Regions from separate parts of the Homo sapiens genome. Here all the other regions are linked to region 1. The links are contacts of gene promoters, found by promoter capture Hi-C in blood cells and fetal thymus (Javierre and others, 2016). All regions are on one chromosome and are shown on one strand. The core of a region is centred on a gene start or on the middle of the fragment in contact, and the rest is flanking DNA. Distances in the headings are between cores, read along the strand shown.

Region 1 (4,597 bases), core at 1,332-3,831:
TCCTAGTTGTAAAAACAAAGATAATACGTATATTAAAGGAAGAACCATTCTGGAATCTGGAATTTAAAAAATATTTATTAATTTTTTAAAGTAATACATTCAATAGTTAAAGAAAATGATATAGAAGTTCCTAAAGTGTGAAATAATGACACCTTGCCCAAATCTTTCTACCCTAGACTCACTGCTGAAAGCAATCCTTTTAACTATTTCTGGTTTTAATTTTTCTGATCATTTTCTTCATACCATTAAAATTGTTCTTAATTTTTTTATATGTCAAGACTAGATATGGCAAGTGATGTATTACAATGATGGATAAGGATTTACCTCACTTTTTATCACATTCCCATCCCAATATGAGACTTTTATTTCTTTTATTAATTACCTTTGTGAATTCAAAGTATACATGTATATCTTTACTTCTTATTTTATCAACTATAGGCAATATCTTTCTCTTCACTTTGGAAGATGAGGGAACTTGCCCCCTATACGTTTCTTTGTTTCTTTTTAACTTCCATCTCTTCTCCTTTGTTATCTACTCTTTTACTTTGACATTGTTATGGATGACAACTTTTACAATTGATTCTGCAGCCGGGATGATATATTCTGCTATTTCTTTTTGGTTGATTCTAAAAGTTGAAAATCATTGCACAGTGTTTACATTATGATTTTGATATAATTATTATATAAGTCTTTTCTGAAGTTAAGCATGTATCATGACTATATTTCCCTTTGTTGTGGGATATTTTGGCCCTTTTTTTCTTTCCTTCTGTCTTTTGTGTGTGTGTGTTTCTGTTTAGCTTCTGGACACTGGGACTTCCATTTCCTCTCTGATGGTGTCAGCAACACAATGCAAGCACCACATTCATTGTTTCCTAGGGAAGCTAAACAGTTCCATTCCTGGACCTATACCATGGGTGGGTAGAGAGGCTGCACACAGGGACCAACTAGCCATCTGGCTGCTCTTGCAGATGTACTTACCCTGCTCAGCCTACAGGTTGCTTTTGGGTGCCCTAAATTTTTTATAGCCACTTCTTGCACACCTCCATTAGATGAATGCTTTCATATAAATCTTTAACATGCCTTAGAATTAATTTTAGTTTGTGTTATGACTCTGTAGTTGTTAGCTATTGCTGCATAACAAATTAGTCCAAAACTTAGTGACTCAAAACACTAATAATAATTTATTTTCTCTTGTTTTTTTAACGGTCTGGAATTCAGCCAGGGTGGACACAGTGGGAAGGGCTTGTCTCTACTCATGGTGTTTGGGGCAGACTCAAAGGCTGGGGGCTGAAATCATCGGAAGGCCTGACTGAGGGTAGAGGATCTGCTTCCAAAATGACTCACTCACATGACAAATTAGTTGGTTCTGGCAAGTTGGCCTCCTTTCCAAGAAGTGCCTCTCCACACATGTGCTTCTCTGCAGGGTTGCTTGAGTGTCCTCATGACATGGCTGGTGGTTCCCAAAAAAGCAAGTGATCCAAGAGCAACATTCAGGAATAAGTTCAATCCTTTCTATGACCTAGCCTCAGAACTCACAAAGCATCACTCTCAATACGCCCTATTCATCAGAAGCCAGGCAGTAATTCCAGCACACTTTCTAGGCAGAGGAATTAGGTACACCTGTTGAAGGGAAGCAGGTCATAATTAGAGGATATATTTTTGAACCACCACAGAATCTAACTTAGGTTCGTACAAATATATAAACAGCTGTCCAATACCACATATTGAATAGTCTATCATTACTATATCAGTCTGAGCCATGACTATTTGCATTTACTAAGAATGTGTGTTATTACCATTGAAGACCTTCCAGTGGGACAAGATGTGAAAGCAGAAGACAGTGGTATTGATGATCCTGACCCTGTATAGGCCTAGGCTAATGTGTGTTTGTGTCTTAATATTTGACAAAAAGTTTAAAATGTAAAAAATAAACAACTTCAAAAGTAGGAAAAAAGCTTATAGAATAAGGATATGAAGAATGAAAATATTTTTGTATAGCTGTACAATGTGTTTGTGTATTCAAGCTGTTATTAAAAGAGTCAAAAAATTTAAAAATTCTTAAGGTAGAAAAGTTACAGTAAGCTAAAGTGAATATATTATTGAAGGAAAGAAAATTTTTAAAAATAAATTGAGTGTGGGCCTAGTGTACAGGGTTTTAAAGTCTACAGTAGTGTACAGTAATGTCCTAGGCCTTCGTATTTACTCACCACTCACTTACTGACTCACCCAGAGCAACTTTCAGTCCCGTAAGCTCCAAGCTTACGGTAGGTGCCCTAGGCAGGTGCACCAGTTTCAATCTTTCATACCATATTTTTACTGTATCTTTTCTATGTTTAGATACACAAATACTTACCATTGTGTTACAGTTGCCTACAGTGTTCAGTACCACACTGTACAGGTTTGTAGTCTAGAAGCACAGCCTACAGCCTGGGTGTGTAGTAGGCTGTGCTGTTTAGGTTTGGGTAAGTACACTCTATATTGTTTGCACAATGATGCAATTGCCTGACGATGCATTTCTCAGAACGTCTGCTCACTGTTACGCAACGGAGGACTGTGAATTGGGAGTTTATTTTGTTTTTCAGTCTGTACTGGCAGCGAATCATACATAGCTTAGTTTATCAGACAAGCTGCTTTTCTTGAGCAAAGAAAGAACTAGGAGAGAAACGGGGCTTTGGAACCCTGATGCGGCAATGCTGAAAGAGGAGAAATATCCCAAGGAAGGGAAAGGTGTGTTGCAGAACGATGAAAAATAGGCGGCTTCTCACAGCTGTTCTCAGGGGACGAGACGGGGTGGGATGCAGCTCCGCCGGTGCCTAACACTAAGGGCCCTCATCCTGCCGATTCAGTTGTGTCGGGACCGCCAGTGCTGTCTCCTCGTCAGATGCTGCTTCTGGTCTCCCCGCAGAAGATGCCACTGGAGTTGCCTTTTCAAGGATGGGGACATTTGAAGGCCCTGGACGCTCAGCTCTGAGGCTGGCTGGGATCTCACTAGCACCCCCTGGTGGAGGCCGGAGCCAGGCTGACGCGGGAAAGTGGGGCACGGAAGCGCTGCGGATTGGACCGGCGGCAGCTAGGCCGAAACGCCTGTATTTAAAGGGATAGTAACTCGGACTCGTTCTGCAATATCCCCACAAGGGCCTGACTGAGCGAGCGAGCATGGACGGCCGCGGGGCTTTCTGGACAGTGGCCATTCCCAGAGCCAGGCAGGAAGGCCTCGGGAGGCTGGGGCTCCCGTTCCCGGTGAAGCGGACGCCGCCAGCGCCCCAGAACCCAGGAGGAAGCACACAGGCCCCACAGAGAGTGGTTGGCAAGAGTCACTCGGGGATTAGGATGCCGGCCAAATCGCGGAATTTGAGGCTGGAATCCAAGCTCAACAGGAAAGTAGTGAAATACAAATGGGGAAAACAGGGCTCTGGAGCGGGGAGGGAGCTGGTGCCGGCATTTCCCACCAACGCCGGTTTAGGAAGACGGGACCGATGCCGGCCGCCCCCTGCTGGAGGGGATGTGGCATCTCACGGGCTGCCAGGGAGCGGGGTTGGCTACTCCTGCAACCAGCGTGAAGAGGGTCTCAGGGGAGGCTGTGGTGGGATCCCCCACGTGCCCTTGTTCCTCTCACCGTTACCTCTGGATGCCTCGGGGCAAAGGCCTTCTTCCACCTATAGACAGAGTCTACGCAGGGGTCTTGGAACCCGGGCACACCAGTCCCCAGCTAACGAAATCCCCGAGTTGGGGGATTTGAGAGGGTCACGTTTGGCCCAAGAACCCGCAGTCCTCTTTGGTCTTCGGCCCTCTATTTCTAAGCGTGGGCTTCTGGCACGGCGGCTCTGGGCACAGCCCATGCTGCTTTCGGGCTGGGTGGTTTCAACGACGACAACAATTATCACAGTGACGGTGACCTTCACCCCAACAGGACTGCTGTGTGTGAAGCACTCAAGAGGGCCCCTACAACCAACCTGCCAGGAGTCGGCTCCTGAAAACAGGGTCGGAAAAGGTCAGTGCCCATCAGAATCGAGCTGTCGGCAAAAAGCTGGAGAGGTTAGGAGCTTTGTCTATCTCAAGGGTAACAAACTGCTTTGACCCTGAGGGCTCTGAAGACGACTTTCCCTCACCGCAGCTCTCAAGACAACAGGGATCAGACTCAGAAAGACACTGCCTGTATAAGGCTCTTGTTTGTCTTGTTTTTAATTCCTGCCCTCTGCCTCCAGATCTCAGTCCTCTATCTGTGAAACGGAATTCGGCCTTGCCTGTCCACGAAATGAAGACAAGGCATCTCGTGTGTGTTAAGATGAAACAAGATCTTAGCAAGAGAGTAATGATTTCTTTTTTAAAACATTTTTTACTGTAGTAAAATGTACTATAACGTAAAATTACCATTTCAATCATTTGTAAGTTCAGTGGCATTAAGTACATTCACATTGTCGGGCAGCTGTCAGAGGTGTTCGAACCAGAGCGACTCCATCTTGAACAGGTGCTGCGCAAAATGAGGCTGAGACCTGCTGGGCTGCATTCCCAGGAGGTTAGGCATTCTTCGTCACAGGATGAGTCAGTGGCTGCCAGGGAGGCAGGTTGGTTACCCCAGGAACCAATGAATTGCATC
Region 2 (4,597 bases), core at 700-3,199, 250 kb before region 1:
CCTCTGACCTCAGGTGATCCACCCGCCTCGGCCTCCCAGAGTGCTGGGATTACAGGTGTGAGCCACTGCACCCAGCCTCAAATTTTGCTTTTTAACAGTTCAAATATAATGTACAAGTTCAGTTTTATAACATTTACTAATTATAGAGTCAAGAAGTTTTGAACTCCCAAAAAGAAGGAAAAAGAGGGAGAGAGAAATGAATAAATATGTAAATTGTTGTGGAGAACATATTCATTCTTATAGCAGACTCGGCACCCATGCAATTCATATGGTGTATTTGCTAAATGATAGTTAAGTAGAGAGATGGGGGCCTAAGAACTTGTTGGTGAAGAGCCTAGAAACAGAGTTGTCTCCTAATTCCTAGTTCTTTGTATTTCTGGCCATTTGTTTTTCATTAAAAATCCTGCCTTTGAGTTAAACAACCATTTTCAAATGATTGAAGTACATGATTATATCATAGCCAAGTAACATCATATTGTCAAAGTTTCACAGAATGTGCTACTAGGTAATTTTAAATTGCTTTATTGAATTGGTGCTATCAGATTTGCTAATTTTTATAACTTTTCAATGATGTAAAAGCAGTTTAGATTGCGGAATATTTATAACAAGTTAATATTGATTAGGTTTTAACAGATACACTTCATTTCCCATTAACTTAGTTAATAATATAAAACTCACAAAAATGGGAACATCTTACAACATATAAGTGAAATAATTTGGGATAAGTATTCATGAAGCTTGATTCATGAAACCCTGACTCAATCAGAATTGAGTTTATTTCTTGAGTAGAAAGAGACTTTGTCATTGGAAAAATGCCCCAGCACCACTGCAGCAATTCTGATTTAGCTGGTCTCTAGGGAGTCCAAGGCTCATGGGTTTTTCCTAATGTTCCAGTGATGTCAGTGTCAAGGTCAGATTCCAAGGTCAAGGACCACTGCCCAGGAGGCTGTGTCCTGGCCCATAAAGCACTTGGTGGTGGAGAGAATGAGCAGGTTATGCTCTAGTTGGCAGCAGGCAGTGTTCTGGGCCAGCAGGTTGTGTCTGGGGATCTTGGTGTAATAAAGAGGGCCACCATAAAGACAGATGCAGCACAGTTTGGAGCCCATCATTTGCCTTGTTAGCCCAACTTAGTTCAGCTGTACCTGGCAGAAAAGGCGATGGGGCTGGGTAGAGAAATTGTATTTCAGACCTTGGTCATCACAGCAAAAAGAACGCCGAAAGAAAGGAAGCTAACTGGAGGCTTTTGAGTTCCTTATAGTTCTTGCCCTGGTAATTTAAGGGATTTTGGTCTTCTATGGTATTCTACCACAGCCATTTTAAGATGGTGCTTCAGTGTGTGTTGCTTCTGTCAAGTACGTTGTCAGATGTGTCATACGGTAAAGACTGAATGAGCTCAGAACTTAATCCCTGCTATGGATACTACTGTTTATAATTCTTTGATACTACATTTTTATTATAATTTAAAATTCACAACTTAAAATATTACATGGTGTTTTTAAAGTTTTTTGAGATCAAAACGGTACTAAAATATACTTTGGGACTGATTTTAGGATTGTTACATATACACTACTAAATTAATCTTCAGCCAGGAATGTATTCCACAAATATAAGTACCTACTGTGTATCAAATGCTGTGCTAGGAGCTAGGGAAGAACCAAGCAGACAACTCTAAATCATAAAAATCATTGCACAAATCGTTAAAGTATAATTGTGACACATTCTGTAAGACAGGGCACCAGAGCTGGAAGACAGTATCACCGGAGGACCTACCCCTGCCAAAGAAAGTCATATTTAAGCCTAAAACAAAAGGGAAAGTGGGTGGAAGGAGAAGCATTGTATCAAGGCCCAGAGGCTGGAAGGAACCTTTCAAGGTTAATAAATAAAGACATATTGACATCTTCCTACTTGAGTTATACAGGTGTTTTCACATATAAGCCATTTAATTTTTGCAAATCTTTGAGTATGCTACTTGGCTGAGGTAGGTAGATAATCTCGTTTTATCAATTGAAAAATCAGATCTTGTCTGTGTACAGAATTTAGGAGTTCAGTAAAATCTAGACAGTATCACATCTATAGACAGTTCCTCAACGCTACCCTGCCACTGGTGGCGGGTTTGTGGGGGCAGATGGAAAAGGGACAAGGCATAGACTGGAAAAGGGGAAGACTAAGGAAAACCTTTCAGTGAAATATTTCATTCTGAAGTACCACTTAAAACATACAGTTATAATTTAGCAACTAAGTATAGAAAAGTATTCATATTGATACACTGGATAATTTCCATTTATTTTAAAAATGCTTAGCATTAGCATATAAAAACCTAAGGAGCTGAGATTCCTCATCAATAAATCAAGTAGATTGTGCAGTGGTTCTCAAAATGTAGTCCCTGGTTCAATTCTTGGGCCCTCCCAGACCCACTAAATCAGAATCTCCAAAGTGGGCCCAGCCATTTGTGTTCTAATAAGCCTTCCAGGTAATTCTGATGCTACGGTTTGAGAATTATCTCTAAATTATCTCTTGAGATTTTTTCTAGTATGAACACGTTATGATTCTAATGTCCAGCATTAATTTGTGCTATGTTTAAAAAAAAAAAAAAAGATTTGCCTTTGGAGTGGTCACATAATAGAGCTACTTGAGAAAGATACTGTTGCCAGTAGGCCAGGTCAGGTTCTTCGCTTCTCTGCACAAAAGAATTTGAAAGGGAGACCACAGTGAAAATGTAGAAGGTTTGTTGCAGAGTGAAAGCAAGTGCACACTCAAAAGAGGAGCCTGGATGTGCTCAAAAGAGGCGTGTAATGTGGTCAGGGCTCGCTACGCAGACAGGCATGATGAAGGCACAAATATTCTATGATGAAAGGAGAGGGTTTCCAGGAAATGGGTGGGCAGTTCCCAGAATCAGGGCGCCACCCTTTTCTTGACTAAATGTGGTTAATCTGGAACTGCCATAGCTTCAGGTACGTGGCAGGGAGTGGGCGGTTTCCCCAGGGAAGTTTTATGGTAATGGGGCATAATGCAGCCAAGAGTATGCATTCAGTCAAGTTTTTGGCCATCTTGGATTTAACCAATTGCAGCAGGCTTCCTCTGTTACATTCTTATCTGTGCCTGGTCCCCAGGTAGCCCTTTCCCATTGGCACAGCTGCCGGCATTCACCTATGCAAGCTTTTACTTGTGTATCTATGCTTGCAGCTTGATTTTTCAGGCCGCTTTTTGTTAGAAAAGAAATGATTTGGGGGCTGCTTTTTATTAAAAGGGAAACCTTGCCGAGGACTCTCTTACCCTCACTATCTGTCTAAATAATTTCTAGCTCCTGTATCATCAGGCTGTTACCAGTATATCACTTTGACAGAAAAATGCATTTAAGCATTAAGTCTTTTATCTATAACTTGATTGCCAGGCTTTTCCTTCATGCCAAAAAAATCTGGCCTGTTTCAGAGTCCTAAGACAAGAGTTTAATAGGAAGACAATTTACAAACACGTGACAGAGTTTGTATTCTCACTATCTCAGAAGTAACCTGGAAACTTGTTAGAAATACAAATTACTGGGCCCCACCCCAGAACTATCTTATGGGAAGCTCCTAGGATAGGGCCCTGCAGTCTGCTTTCATAAACCTGTCTAGTGCATGACACAGTTTGAGTACTATTGTTTTGAGGAAAAGGAAGGATGGTGTAGCACTCCAAGGCCAGTAACCGCCAGCACCCCCTTTAGCCCTGAAGGTAAAGAGAGCTGGCAGTTCCTGGAGCTTGAAAGTCCAGCCTGCCTTCCGCCCCTCCCACTCCAAATCTCCTGGAGTCTGTTGGGGCACAGAGGAGAGTGAAGAATGGAACTAAAGGGAAGATACTGGCACATGGCATGCTGTCGGAAGATATCTGCCCCACTTCTTTTAATAGGGGAGGGAGGTGCTCTTGTCTAACCAGACCCATTTTATTTTTTCTGTGAAAAGTGCAGTTTCGATTGGTGGAGGGAACCAGAATCCTGGAAGACAGCCTGGGTTTGGAGGCCTCAACTTCCGCGACAGTTGTCACTGCATCTTCATTAATGGAGCAAAATAGATTAAGTAGCCTCTTGGGCTGTGGTCAGATTTGAACCAACTGTTGTTGAATTAGGGGAAGGCCTACTATTGACTTTCCCAGTCTATTAGTCTATGTAGTAGCCACATCATATAAAGAAACTAGTAATTTTTTTTACTTCTAATATTGACCATGAAAATAGATTATTTTTGTATTCTGAATTCAAACATAGACATATCTTTTTAAAGATAACCACAAATTGTTTTCCAAAGAGGATGTGCCGTTTTTCATTCTCACCAGCAGTGTAGGAGAGATCTAGTTTCTCAGCATCCTCCCCAGCATTTGGAGTCATTTTTAGCTCTTCTAGTAGTGGTAGTTCACTGTAGTGTTAATTCATATTTCTGTAATGGCTAATATGGTTAAGCATCTTTCTGTGGGATTATTTGCCATCTTTATATCCTCTTTGGTGAAATGTCTGTGCATGTCTGATCCATTTTGTAATTGAATTTTTTTTTTTAATGTTGAGTTTTGGGAGTTCTTTATATATTCTAGGTACTAGTCATGTGCTTTGCAGATATTTTTCTTTAAGTCT
Region 3 (4,597 bases), core at 724-3,223, 220 kb before region 1:
CATTGATTTTTTGAAGGGTTTTTTGTGTCTCTATCTCCTTCAGTTCTGCTCTGATCTTAGTTATTTCTTGCCTTCTGCTAGCTTTTGAATGTGTTTGCTCTTGCTTCTCTAGTTCTTTTAATTGTGATGTTAGGGTGTCAATTTTAGATCTTTCCTGCTTTCTCTTGTGGGCATTTAGTGCTGTAAATTTCCCTCTACGTACTGCTTTAAATGTGTCCCAGAGATTCTGGTATGTTGTGTCTTTGTTCTTGTTGGTTTCAAAGAACATCTTTATTTCTGCCTTCATTTCATTATGTACCCAGTAGTCATTCAGGAGCAGGTTGTTCAGTTTCCATGTAGTTGAATGGTTTTGAGTGAGTTTCTTAATCCTGAGTTCTAGTTTGATTGCACTGTGGTCTGAGAGACAGTTTGTTGTGATTTCTGTTCTTTTACATTTGCTGAGGAGTGCTTTACTTCCAACTATGTGGTCAATTTTGGAATAGGTGTGGTGTGGTGCTGAGAAGAATGTATATTCTGTTGATTTGGGTTGGAGAGTTCTGTAGATGTCTATTAGGTCTGCTTGGTGCAGAGCTGAATTCAATTCCTGGATATCCTTGTTAACTTTCTGTCTCGTTGTTCTGTCTAATGTTGACAGTGGGGTGTTAAAGTCTCCCATTATTATTGTGTGGGAGTCTAAGTCTCTTTGTAGGTCTCTAAGGAGTTGCTTTATGAATCTGGGTGCTCTTGTATTGGGTGCATATATATTTAGGATAGTTAGCTCTTCTTGTTGAATTGATCCCTGTACCATTATGTAATGGTCTTCTTTGTCTCTTTTGATGTTTGTTGGTTTAAAGTCTGTTTTATCAGAGACTAGGATTGCAACCCCTGCCTTTTTTTGTTTTCCATTTGCTTGGTAGATCTTCCTCCATCCCTTTATTTTATTTCTGTGGCATATTCGATTTTTTTACTTAAATAATATTAGGATACTTCTGTTCCTTCTCGGTGTGCCACATATTATCATACTTCTTTTGGCCAAATGTATAAACAATGTTGTATACAGTTGTATTATGTAAAGAAAATATTGTATTTTAACTGCTTGCTTTATTTTCTCACTTGTAGATAACCTTAAGTAATTCCTGGATTGCTTTTTGCCAGAAAAATCTTTCTGAATACTCTGAGAGTAATAAAGCAATATACTGCCTCTGGACTCTTACAGCAATAATAAAAGAAATCTTTAAAGATTCATGTTCACAGAAAACAGGTATGGATTACATGGCCCCATAAACAATCATCATCTTGCTCCTGGGAGCGTTGCATTTATAATGAGAAACAAAACTTAATTTGGAACATCTGATCTGTCTTAAAGTAATGAAAAAGTCAGTCTCTTCCAATATATTTTGATTGAGGATAACCTGTTTTAAAAGAAAAAAAAGTATAAGGAAAAAAGTAAAGCTTTTCATGAGCACAAATCCCTTGCATTGTTTGATGTTACTGATATTCGTAAAATGAATATTTTTTGTTTTGTTTTGTTTTATTTTTTTGAGACAAGTCTTGCTTTGTTGCCCAGGCTGGAGTGCAATGGCATGATCTTGGCTCACTGCAACCCCTGCCTTGCGAGTTCAAGTGATTCTTCTGCCTCAGCCTCCCGAGTAGCTGGGATTACAGGCGCTCACCACCACACCCAGCTAATTTCTGTATTTTTAGTAGACACAGGGTTTTACCATGTTGGCCAGGCTGGTCTCAAACTCCTGACCTCAAGTGATCCACCCGCATCGGCCTCCCGAAGTGCTGGGATTACAGTTGTGAGCCACCACACCCAGCCATAAAATGAATTTTAACCGTGGTTCTTACCCATTAATCTGTGTAACCTCATTTGTTAATGTTAGAGGTAAACATTCCAAATCTGTTTTTTCATCTTAAAAAGTGATATTTATAAAAAGTGAATTGTAAAATTGTTTGAAGAAGACTGTTTTTCCTGTTTATAATTCCTATTTTTATAATTGCAGAAATTCTAAAGCAGTTCCTGACTCATTTCGACACCATTTTTGAAGTGTTTTACAATTCCTTATTCTCTCAGCATTTTGAAAACTGCCGGGATACTTCTAAAATAGTAAACATCCTGATGTGTTTCCTGGATTTGCTTGAGCTTCTCATCGCCTCCAGAATCCACCTGAAGTTACATTTCACTTGCCAGAGGATTTTATTTTTGAAACCATCTTGCATGCTAGAAGTTATTACCTGGCCTATTCAGGCTTTTGTTAAAAGGAAGGTCATCATATTCCTCAAAAAGTGCCTTCTCTGTAAAGTGGGTGAAGACCTCTGTCGTGGATCTGTGCCTGCCTTAATGCCGCCAGACCATCATGTAGCGGTGGACATGCTGGCTTTAGCTAATGCTGTTTTGCAAGCTGTGAATTCGGGGTTGTTGAAGACACTGTCTGTTTATGAAAAACATTCCTTTTTTGGAGGTGATGAAGTTCAACCTGAATGTGAACTTATCACTAGTCCAGATCATGTGATCCTTAGAGCAGCAAGCTTAGTTATAATGAAATCCTTAGAAATCAAGTTTCAAAATTATTCTTCAGCAAGTGAAGTGAAAGGTAATTCTCCAAACTCCTTTTGTATGCAGTGTGTAATTATTTACTTAAGTACAGTAATTCATAATTATCAAATCTCAGGACTAGTTTAAATTCCAGTAATTTAAGCTGTATGTTATCCTATTTGTAACTTATTACATTTTCAAAAAAAAAAAAAAGAACTGGATTTACCTTTAAGAAACATGTCAGCTTTTTGTGCCTACAATGAATTTGTAAAGCATAAGGAATGATTTAGGTTTAAAAAAGTTGCTGTTGAGTCATCTCAAAGTAAGTGATGGAAATCAATTCATATTCAAGTATTTACAGCATTTTATTTATATTAATCCTTTTTTTTTTTTTAATCTAAACTGCAGGTGCGTGACCATGGCCCACTGCAGCCCTGACCCCCCTTCGGCCCATGCTATTCCTCCTGTCCCAACCTGGGAGGTCCTAGCCTGGGAGATCAAGGCTACAGTGAGCCGCGACCCATCGCACACCTGCACTCCAGTCCTGGTGCAACAGATGGAGATCCTTTCAGGGAGAGAGAGAGAGAGAGAGGAGAAGACAGAGAGATTAAAGAAAAATATGTTCACTCCCACTTATGTGTTTATTGTTATTATTGTTTGTTGTTATTTCTTTGTTATTGTTGTGTTTACTGTTTATTTATTTTGAGGCAGGGTCTTGCTCTGTCTCCCAGGCTCACTGCAGCCTCAACGTTTTGAGCTGAAGTGATCCTCTCGTCTCTGTTTCCCCACCCCATTTGTATTAATCCTTCATACAATTAGTGTTTCCACTAATGTAGATTATTGAAAATTAGATATTGAATTAAAGCTAATATATGAGAAGTTATATTGACAAAGAAATTGTTACATATATAATTTCCAGAATAGTAACTCAGGAGTTCAAAGTCTTCCATTTTACTTGAGAAAAATGAATAGTAAATGTCTCTAAACAGGCAGCATACAGATTCAGTGAAAAGTTTGAATTGTGAGCAATGACATCACTGAATTGCTTTGGATATAATTTAGCTTTTAATAACTACACATTAGTTATAATTCTGTGCAGTTTTAATTTATAACACTAGATGGCACCTGTTATATAATTCAGTTTTAAATTGTAGTTCAAACTACCTAAAACGTTTTTTATTTTTGTGCTTAATAGTAGTACTTCTATGCTTTAAACAAACAAAAAATATGTTTTTCTGTTATTTTGAAGACAAAATTATTTTTGCTTGGTTGCATTCTTGGACAGACAGCTCTGGCATCCGATGAAGTGATCTTAGTTGTCTGCTCATTTATTTATCTGCTTTTAGCAAGAAATCACATAACTTTTATTTCTAAGAGACAGTTGTTAGGCAGTTGTTGCAAATAGATGATGTAGCTGTACATTTTAAATGTATGCTCTGGAATGAGTCACTTTTTTTCCCTGAGCCTCAGTGTCCTCATTTGCCAAATAAAGATGCTTCCTAACTGATTCCTGATGACTTTTTGAAAGTGAATTAGGATAATTGCATCTTAAGGTACTTTAGACACTATGAATTTATATATAGGCAAGATATTCATTCATTCATAAACTATTGCCTACACTTTGAAATTTTCATTTTTTGAAGTTGACTTACAGAGGTTCATGTCTGAGTTACTGACCTTCTTAAAGCCTCATCTTCAGCCCTCTCTGCAATTACACAATCCGTGCAAATGGCTGTCTCGGGTTTTCATAGAACAAGACGATGACATGCTGGAGGCTGCCAAGGCATCACTGGGCATCTACTTAACACTGACCAGGTTAGTGTATTTTAAAGTAATTATTGAACGGCCTACAAGTCAGGAAAGCAGAAAACATTTCTGAGAATGTGCTGGGCGTGTTGCTTACTTTCATCATTTGGGGGAAAACATCCTGTTGCAGTTCCTTTCTTTAACCCTGACTTACATGAAAAGGAGATTGCATTTGTATCGCTAGGAAAACCTGGCTGGCTGGGCAGTTCTCAGGTAGTATAACTAGATTGGTATCTGAAAACATGGCTTCTGATTTGGTCTCCAGTAAGTCAG

What was found. Contacts are between HindIII fragments. The CHiCAGO score rates a contact against its expected background, and 5 or more counts as called.
Region 2: a contact is called between a fragment that was not itself captured here and the fragment with the promoter of SPATA41 in region 1, in 2 of 17 cell types (naive CD4 T cells and non-activated CD4 T cells). The highest score is 5.7, in naive CD4 T cells.
Region 3: a fragment that was not itself captured here is called in contact with the fragment with the promoter of SPATA41 in region 1 in 5 of 17 cell types (M2 macrophages, naive CD4 T cells, M0 macrophages and 2 more); the score reaches 8.2 in M2 macrophages.

The regions. Positions count from the first base shown.
Region 1 is chr15:100,348,702-100,353,298 of GRCh38, reverse strand. It overlaps SPATA41 (spermatogenesis associated 41), which reads left to right and starts at 2,581. Exons shown (of 2, transcript NR_028139.1): 1 at 2,581-4,565. LOC105371021 (a long non-coding RNA gene) reads right to left here and starts at 3,693. Exons shown (of 3, transcript XR_007064777.1): 1 at 3,617-3,693; 2 at 2,354-2,924; 3 at 1,155-1,620. RefSeq lists an enhancer at 3,154-3,413. The HindIII fragment of the contact is 2,620 bases long and covers 2,261-4,597 here.
Region 2 is chr15:100,595,264-100,599,860 of GRCh38, reverse strand. The region is part of intron 1 of LINS1 (lines homolog 1); the gene reads left to right. Among named protein-coding and RNA genes, the nearest start is that of LINS1, 4.6 kb to the left of the region's middle. The HindIII fragment of the contact is 2,419 bases long and covers 740-3,158 here.
Region 3 is chr15:100,571,630-100,576,226 of GRCh38, reverse strand. It overlaps LINS1 (lines homolog 1), which reads left to right. Exons shown (of 7, transcript NM_001040616.3): 4 at 1,099-1,240; 5 at 1,986-2,576; 6 at 4,162-4,333. Among named protein-coding and RNA genes, the nearest start is that of LINS1, 28 kb to the left of the region's middle. The HindIII fragment of the contact is 1,080 bases long and covers 1,434-2,513 here.